3 separate regions of the Homo sapiens genome follow, and regions 1 and 3 are each linked to region 2. The links are contacts of gene promoters, found by promoter capture Hi-C in blood cells and fetal thymus (Javierre and others, 2016). All regions are on one chromosome and are shown on one strand. Each heading gives the region's core, a stretch centred on a gene start or on the middle of the fragment in contact. The rest is flanking DNA. Distances are from core to core; before and after follow the strand shown. Region 1 holds the start of ZNF223 (zinc finger protein 223). Region 2 holds the start of ZNF671 (zinc finger protein 671). Region 3 holds the start of ZNF180 (zinc finger protein 180).

Region 1 (2,814 bases), core at 299-2,798, about 14 Mb before region 2:
CTTATTTATTTCTCTCTCTTTTCTCATTCCCTTAGTTCCCCACTTCCTATGTAGCCCTTTAAAAATGCAAATATAGACTTTTACCTCCCCTTCACCAGACACTTCCTACAGGGAAAGTTCATCTAACTGTGTGCTCCAAGCCAGAACTCTCCTCCAGAATTAACAGTCAATTTACAAACTAAAGCATGCTGGCCTCTGAACTCTCACTCACCAGGAGGTTGCCTGAAGAGACAACAGTTGAAAGCGTGCCTGCTACTCTCTCCCTTCTGGTTACAACTTATTTCTGCCCATGAAAAAGCCAGCTCAACTGCCTAATAGATAAGGCACCAAGCCAGCACACAGACCCCTTCCCTCTTCCTCCCCTACCTTTTAAAAGTGCCTGCTTTCTGCTCTAAAAGCCAAGCCGTGCACTTAAAGACAACACCTGTGCTACTTCCCCTACGCTAGCTCTAGAATAAATCACTTTCTTTATACCAGATCTCCCTCTTGTTAACTGGACGTTGCAAACGGGAAGCCACTGATCTACTTTTCAGTTACAGGGGCTGATGCTTTCCTGGCTTCTCATTGCCCCTCCCAACCCATTCTACCTGGCTCATTCTTTAAACCAGTGGTCCCCAACCGTTTTAGCACCATGGACCGGTTTTGTGGAAGACAATTTTTCCACGGACTGGGGAATGGTTTCGGGATGAAACTGTTCCACCTCAGCCATTAGATTCTCATAAGGAGCGCCTGACCTAGATCCTTCGCACGCACAGTTCACAATAGGATCCGCGCTCCTATGAGAATGTAATGCTGGGCTGATCTCACAGGAGGTGGAGCTCAGGCCATAATGCTCCCTCACCTGCCGCTCACTTCCTGCTGTGCCGCCCGGTTCCTAACAGTCAGTGGACCGGTACAGGTCTGTGGCCCTGGAGTTGGATATCCTTGCTTTAAACCCTGAGCCTCCTTTCAGCCATCTGACGGCTCAACAGTCACTCTATCTAGCTCCTTGAATATTGTATCTCCTCGCTTGTTCCCTGTCCAAGAACACTCCTGTCAATCATGGGAGACATTTAGACTTCATAAATTCTTTCTATTCAATATTTTCGCTCGAGGACTCTGGGAAGGACAACTGTCAGGGTAACAGTCTGCATTCCCCACCAGGAACCTGGGGCTATGAAATTCGTTCCCCGTGGGTGTTGCGGGAAGTGTAATCGAGGAGCACCATGTAGTCGCAACACTTGAGCCTAAAGGGTGAGGTGATGGACATTTTCCTTTTGCATCTGAGGCTCTGCAGTCCAGACACCTTGCGGGATTCCTGATACTTCAGCTCAGGTAGGCGTTTCCGGAGAATTCTGGGAAGAGTAGTCCATTTTACGGGAAGTGTAGTCCACTGGCTCGTGGAACACTGGGTATTTTGGCTCTGGCAGGTGAACCGTTGAATTCTGGGAACGATAGTCCAGACACTCTGCGGAGTCCCGGGCCCTTTGGCTCAGGGGGGCGGGTCCGGGGAATTCTGGGGAGTGGAGTCCAGACACTCTGGCGCAGAGAGGACACTTCCGGTCTCCTAGTCTGAGGTTCCTGCTTTAATGACCGGGGTAGTTTGAGCCATTTCTGCGTCTTGCAGGACATTTTGAACGAACCCCCTTTGCTTGAGGCTCGCAACCACCCGATGATCGATGATCGTCTCAGGGGAAAAGAAGCCTTGGCGAAGAGCAGAGGTTTAGAGGTGCGAGGGCGGGGAGGGTGTTTATTGTTCCCGTCAGCGGAGCCTTCTGGCGTCGGGGGGCTTTGCTCGCCTCCCGGGGGGTGGGATTGGGGTGGCCTTGTGTGCCCTGCTCTGAGGGTTTCCAGGACTTTGACCTCGCTCAGTCCGCCTCCCTACGTATGCAGTGTGTACACTCTTTCTCGCAGTGTGATGTGGAATGTTAATGTCTCTGTACTTCCCATTGCTGTTCTTTAAAATGGTGCTTATAGGGTCATCCTAATAGAATTGTTTTGCGAATTGAAAGAGATAATACAAATGAAAGCCTTAAAGTTGTCCCTGTCACTTGGTGAGTGGTCTCTTGTTGCCTGATATTTTAAAACGTTTGATATCATTTCAAAGCTATAGAAAAATTGCAAAAACAGTATAAGAAATTCTCATATACCCTTTACCCAAATTTGCCAAGTGTTTACATTTTTCCTGTTTGCTTTGTTGATGACCATCAACCAAATACCACCAGGAACATACCTGTAACCAGAGACAGCTGATTGGTAGCTTTCTGCAGCAAGGAAGCCCACATACCACGGTAATTGTGGGGTGTCTTGGTAAGAGGCATTTAGGAAGGGCTGGTTATAGGGTTTCACATAACATGGTAGATAATATTGGATATTATGTTAAATAATACTGTTACCGATTACATGTCAGATAGATGTGTTAAAAGAATACTAGTATTTGTAGTGTACTTACTAGATAGTGTTGGATAGCATATTACCTAGCATCATGTTATCTAATCTGCAGTTCCATATACGAATTTGTTAAATTTTTCATTTAAAGTCCTTATGACTGTCCTCTGCCCCACCCTTCACCTATTCAAAGTCCAGTTTATGCGTTGTCTTTAGCTGTCACATTTCCATAGTTGTTCATTTGGAGTTTGATATTGAAGGGGGCCTGCCTCTCCACACCTGTGGGTGTTTCTCACAAGGTGGAAATGAGAAACTGAGAAAAGAAATAAGACACAGACACAAAGTATAGAGGAAGAAAAGTGGGCCCAGGGGACCGGCGCTCAGCAAATGAGGACCTGTACCGGCACTGGTCTCTGAGTTCCCTCAGTATTTATTGATCACTATCTC
Region 2 (2,700 bases), core at 175-2,674:
TAATCTCAACTACTTGGGAGGCTGAGGCGGGAGAATCTCTTGAACCCGGGAGGTAGAGGTTGCAATAAGCCACTGCATCCCACCCTGGGCGACAGAGTGAGACTTCGTCTCAAAAAAAATAAAAAAAATAAATAAACTAAAACTAAAAGAAAACACACAAAATGAGGGTGAGATAATCAGATAGTAGCAATAGCACACCACCCATCGTTGCCATCCCAGGCCAAACTCCTCATACCCTACAGCTCTCTCCTCCTGCAAACACTGAAAAGAACCCTTTCAAATGGCAGGACCCTTCTCTTCTGGGGGGAGTCTCAAGAATGCCCACTCCCTCTTCCCTGCCCTGCAGTCCCAGCCTTCTCATCTCTTACCCCAGAGATATGAAATAACATACTTAAGACTGCCCCACTTAAATCTGACCTCCTGGCCTTGACCTACTCCAGACCGCTCCCTTCACCCCAAAGATATTCTAAGCCCAGCCCCTTCCCCACAACTTCAGACCTTCCTCTCTAGTTGCCTAAGTGAGGAAGCCTCCACTCTGAGACATCTCAAAGTCACCATTCCAAAATCCAAACGTTCATGGAAAAACAACAAAAACACCTTGCTCTTTCATGCCTTACTTTCAGTCATAGCTGCATATGATGGAGCAGAAAATCCTGTTGGTTTCAAATTTAAAACCTACCCAGAATATGATCACTTCTACCCACTCACCTGCCATTACTCTTGGTACATCCACCACCAAAGCATTCCTGGAATCCACTGCAGTAGCCTCCTTACCGGTCTCCTCGTATCCATCCTCGCAGTCCCCACCCCAAACTAATGTTCTCCCCTGAGCAAATTTCGAGACACTTAAAATCCCAGCTAAGATCACGTCCTTCTATTCAAAACCCTCAGTTAATCTCAACGCCCTCAGAATGAAGCGACAACTTCTCAGCCTGCCATTCCAGTCACAGTTCCTCAAACTCTGCTCTGTGTTGATGAGAACCCTGTCTCCCAAATGTTTGGGGGTCAGCAGCACCCCCGAGCCTTTACCTGCGCCGTCCCCTCCGCCCGTAACTCTCCCACACCCACCCACACCGAGATAGGACCCCGCCCCAAGAGTGCGTCGCTGTCCTGGGACACAGGGGCTGCAGGCACTTTACGATTCGGAGTCGGAGAAAGGGTGACTGAGGGCCCGGAGGACGCAGCACCCACCCGCGCGGAGTCCGTTAGCTCCGCCATAGGACCGTGGGCGCGGACAGCTGCCGGGAGCGGCAGGCGTCTCGATCGGGGACGCAGGCACTTCCGTCCCTGCAGAGCATCAGACGCGTCTCGGGACACTGGGGACAACATCTCCTCCGCGCTTTCCCAACACCTCCACCTGCGGCCCACACAAGCGTTACAGAACCCCGGCCAGGGACAGCCTGACAGAAACAAAATGTCCGCTACAAGGAGGAGCCGGAAGTCCCGCCCACGCACCCCCCGCAGGCACTGAAACACCCCTCTCCTGGGCCCTCATTGGGTATGCAACGTATAGGTTTGTGGGTAGAGTGTGGTTCCCACTGAGCTATCCTTCAAGGCAGGGGATTCTCGGCCTGGGCTCTTGGGAAAACTCGAAGTAGGAGGGCCAAGTTGTTTGGGAAAAGTAACCCGAGTTTCAAAGGGCTGACAGGACTTCCGTCCTCTTTTTTTTTTTTTTTTTTTTTTTTGAGACAGAGTCTCGCTCTGTCTCCCAGGCTGCAGTGCAGTGGCGCGATCTCGGCTGACTGCAACCTCCGCCTCCCGGGTTCAAGCGATTCTCCTGCCTCAGCCTCCCAAGTAATTGGGACTACAGGGGCCCGCCACCACGCCAGGCTAATTTTAGTACTTTTAGCAGAGTACGGGATTTCACCATGTTGGCCAGGCTGGTCTCGAACTCCTGACTTTGTGATTTGCCTGCTTCGGCCTCCCAAAGTGCTGGGATTACAGGAGTGAGCCATGGTGCCCGGCTGACTTCTGTCCTCTTAAAAGGCCTGGACCTAGATTCCCTGGAGTGTAGTATGCACCGATCGCAGAAATGTTGAGACATTTCAGATGTTCCCCAAAGCTGCAAAACTAAATAGATACACCACACCACAATGTCTCTTTGCGTACACTCACAGCTAGAAGCTAATAACTATTACCTTGTTGCTTTTTAAATATGTGTGCACTCAAGCTTTACAGTAACTTTTGTGAGCTTCAGTTTGGTCAGAGACGGAAGAGAAAATATTCCAAACAAGGCCTTGGAGTGGAAGAAGGAAGAGGGATGATGTGGAGTCTCCCTGAAACCAGTGGACAGATTTCTTCAGAAAACTCTTCCTGCCTGGGTAATCAGTGATGTCTCCATCACAGCAAAACACAGTGCAATTACCATTTAACCTGTCATTGTCATTGTAAGTATGGTGTCTGTGTTAGGAGGTGAGATTATCCCCGGGGGAAAAATCCTGACAGCTATTAATAATGATTCCGTAGTTATTTGAAGATAATGAAAGAAATTGCTCTAAGGAAATATCTGTGATAGATGGACAAAGTTAAGATCTCAGTAAAGTTTGAGCCTGAATACTAAAGTATAAGTGAAAGAATGAAGTTAAGCATATGGTTGTGTTGTGATCTTGACCACACTTTGTCAACAAAATGTGACTCTTTTTTCCTGAAAATGCTGAGCAATTGTAAAGAAGATATCAGAATGGTAAAAATCAACAGTGA
Region 3 (2,926 bases), core at 210-2,709, about 13 Mb before region 2:
GTGTAGGTTCTGGGGTCAACTGCCCCACTATTTGCCCGCAGCCAGGACACTACAACAACTAAACAGTAGCTTGAGCATACAGCTCCATAATCAGCCCCAGGACTTGGGCACTCGCCAGCGTGGGGGTTCTCGAGCCTACGATACAGCAGCTCAATGGGAACTGGGCCCTTTGTCCTTCTCTTGCCCAATCATGACGGCCTGGGTGTTGTGCAGTCAGCTCTTCCCGGGACCAAATCTGCAGCACAGGCTCTGTCCCTCTACTAACCTGCACATTCTCACGCCTGCAAATAGCGTACCCAAGTAAAGGTCTCAGCAACACCTGCTTCATAACGATGCTGGCAACATACTGCTTCCTCCCCAGCTACCAATTTGATGGCAGCTGTTGCAGCTCTGTCCTTCCTGGACTTAAATTCTGTATCTCCAACCCGGAGTCTCTGCCCATCTTGAATGCTCTAGAGCTCTGCACTATCCTACATAGGTCCCTACTATCAGTTCAAGTTTCTGTTTTCCATTCAGACACCCCCAGGACGTGCAGGGGGCCCTCTGCCCAGAACCTGTTTCTAGGCCCTGATACCCTCCTTCAGCCTGGGAGTTTGCTGCCCATGGGTAATTCCCACCAAGGGTTCACTAGCAACACTGCCTCTTCTGGCACAAGAATCTGCAACTCCAATCTGGTCTCTCCACCAACCACAGCGCCCCCAGACCTTGGAGAAGCGCGTTGTCTGCTCTAGGGGCCCAGAGCCACCTGCTCGGAATCTTACCTACAACCTTTTGCTTCCTACCCAAATACCTGATCAAGAGTAAAGGGACAGTGGCACAGCCCCTCCTCTCCAGAAACCACAATCTGCAATGGAGCACTCCATCAACCCGGACATCCTCAGGCCTCCACTAAATAAGCCCGGCATTGGAGGAGGGGAGTTCTCAAGATGTCCCCTTACATCAATGCATGTGCCCTGTGTTCCAGCAACCTGGGCATCCTCAGGCCCCAGACAAGAGCACCACCTGACCAAGCACCCGCGCATGCACGCAGAGGACAGTCGCGGAATATACAGCTGTATCAGTAACTCCATCAACCCCGGTGACCCGAGGCTAAAGCGCCACCCGCACAGATACCAGGTCTCCCCGCTACACTCACCACCGCTTCCAGCTTCCCGCGTAGACCCTGCGCATGCGCGCATCGGACACCAAGCGCTGCCCCACGCCCCTACCAACCTGGGCGTCCGCTGGCCCGCAGCCCAGGCTGGGCCTGTCACCGCCTCAGTGCCTAGCACGGCTCTGCGGCAGGACGAACTCGGGTTAGGCAACCCCCTGCCCCGATTCTGCAACACGGCCGACTCGGGTTAAGCTAGTTCGGTCCCCTCTCCTAGTCAGCATCCGCAAGGCCGCTGGGGGTTAAGTCTGAAGGGCCGAGCTGCTCGGCGACAGCAAGCGTCCGCGCGCGGGACAATGGCTGCTCTTGTGGCCGAACCCGGAAGTGCACTTGGGCTCGGAGAGCCAGAACTACAATTCCCAGAAGCCTCCGCGGCGCGGACGGTCAGTAGGCGGGGTTCCGGCTTCTCCAAGGAAGTGGGGCGGGGGACCGGGCCAGAAGCTAAGAGGGCGTCCTCGTCCGGGGCCCGGGGGGGCGCCACACCTGTGCATGTGCAGGTCTAGGGGGAGCACTAAGACCAGCCGCGGCGCCGGGAGGCCGAGGCCAGTGCAGCGACGCATGGGGAGTCGCTCTGGCGTGACGTCAGAATCCAATAGAAATGGCGGGGACCCTTTCTGGGTGCCCCCTGCCTGTCAGACGCTGCGCGCGACCCCTTGTCTCCTCTAGTCCTAGGGGAAACCTGTGAGACAGTTGCGACATCCCCATTTTACAGTGGAGGGAGCGTCTACCGAACCCTTCAGGAATCTATGTTTTTACATTTAATAATACTAAAATATAATCATTTTATTTTTAAATTTTGAGTTCTTTCTCTGCCTATAAGGCCTGAAGGATCTGTTCCCCCCACCTCTCCCCTTTTCTCTGTTTTTGTTTTGTTTTGTTTTGTTGTTTTGAGACGGAATTTCGCTCTTGTCGCCCAGGCTGGAGGGCAATAGCGCGATCTCGGCTCACTGCAACCTCCACCTCCCGGATTCAAGCGATTCTCCTGCCTCAGCCTCCTGAATAGCTGGGATTACAGGCGCCAGCCACCACGCCCGGCTAATTTTTGTATTTTTAGTAGAGACGGGGTTTCACCACGTTGGCCAGGTTAGTCTCCAACTCCTGACCTCAGGTGATCCGCCCTCGGCCTCCCAAAGTGCTGGGATTACAGGCGTAGTCCCCTTTTCTCTTTGCCCTCATTTCTTGCCCATTTGCTTGGCACATTTTCCCCATTCTCCAACAGATCCAGCAGACTCCAGCCCCTGGTCGTTTGCAGGTGCTCTTTGCACTCCCTAGCAGCCTCTCCTGAGGGATTCATTTGGCTCTCACCGTCTGGTAATTAGGGGAATATCATCTTCTCATGAGGCATTGCCCCACCACCCGTTGTGAACTTGCAAGCAAACGCTTCCCTCCCCACATGCTCTGTGCCTCCCCCTTCATCTTTTATTTTTTTCTCTAAAGAACTTTTCACTATCTAGCACACTATATATTTTAATTATTTATTTGGTCTACTGTCCGACCTACCACTACGATGTCAATTCCATAAGGAAAAGCATTTTATCGATGTTGATCACTGCTGCATCCCCAACACCTAAAAAAAAAAAAAAGAGAGAGACCTGGCACATAATAGATGCTCAATAAATATTCGTTGGCTAAATAAAGGTTCCTGTCTCTGTATTAAACACTTTAATATTTCATTACCAAGCCCAATCAGCCTATGAGGTAGTTGTGTTAATTTTCATCCTACCAGGGAGGTAGCTGAAAATTGGAGCCCTGCTGTATGAAAATACATAATTTTTT

The links. The method cuts DNA at HindIII sites, captures the fragments that hold promoters and counts their contacts. A CHiCAGO score of 5 or more calls a contact.
Region 1: the fragment with the promoter of ZNF223 here is called in contact with the fragment with the promoter of ZNF671 in region 2 in 1 of 17 cell types (naive CD8 T cells); the score reaches 5.9 in naive CD8 T cells.
Region 3: a contact is called between the fragment with the promoter of ZNF180 here and the fragment with the promoter of ZNF671 in region 2, in 1 of 17 cell types (total CD4 T cells). The highest score is 13.2, in total CD4 T cells.

What each region holds. Positions count from the first base shown.
Region 1 is chr19:44,050,488-44,053,301 of GRCh38, forward strand. ZNF223 (zinc finger protein 223) reads left to right here and starts at 1,549. Exons shown (of 5, transcript NM_013361.6): 1 at 1,549-1,708. RefSeq lists enhancers at 1,215-1,716, 1,536-1,775 and a silencer at 1,436-1,495. The HindIII fragment of the contact is 18,414 bases long and covers 1-2,814 here.
Region 2 is chr19:57,726,200-57,728,899 of GRCh38, forward strand. ZNF671 (zinc finger protein 671) reads right to left here and starts at 1,425. Exons shown (of 4, transcript NM_024833.3): 1 at 1,192-1,425. The coding sequence starts at 1,329. RefSeq lists enhancers at 1,124-1,624, 1,142-1,581, 1,722-1,771 and a silencer at 1,578-1,803. The HindIII fragment of the contact is 7,103 bases long and covers 1-2,168 here.
Region 3 is chr19:44,499,063-44,501,988 of GRCh38, forward strand. It overlaps ZNF180 (zinc finger protein 180), which reads right to left and starts at 1,460. Exons shown (of 5, transcript NM_001278509.3): 1 at 1,213-1,460. RefSeq lists enhancers at 730-1,228, 1,216-1,265, 1,229-1,729, 1,276-1,335, 1,346-1,555 and 2 more. The HindIII fragment of the contact is 10,008 bases long and covers 1-2,926 here.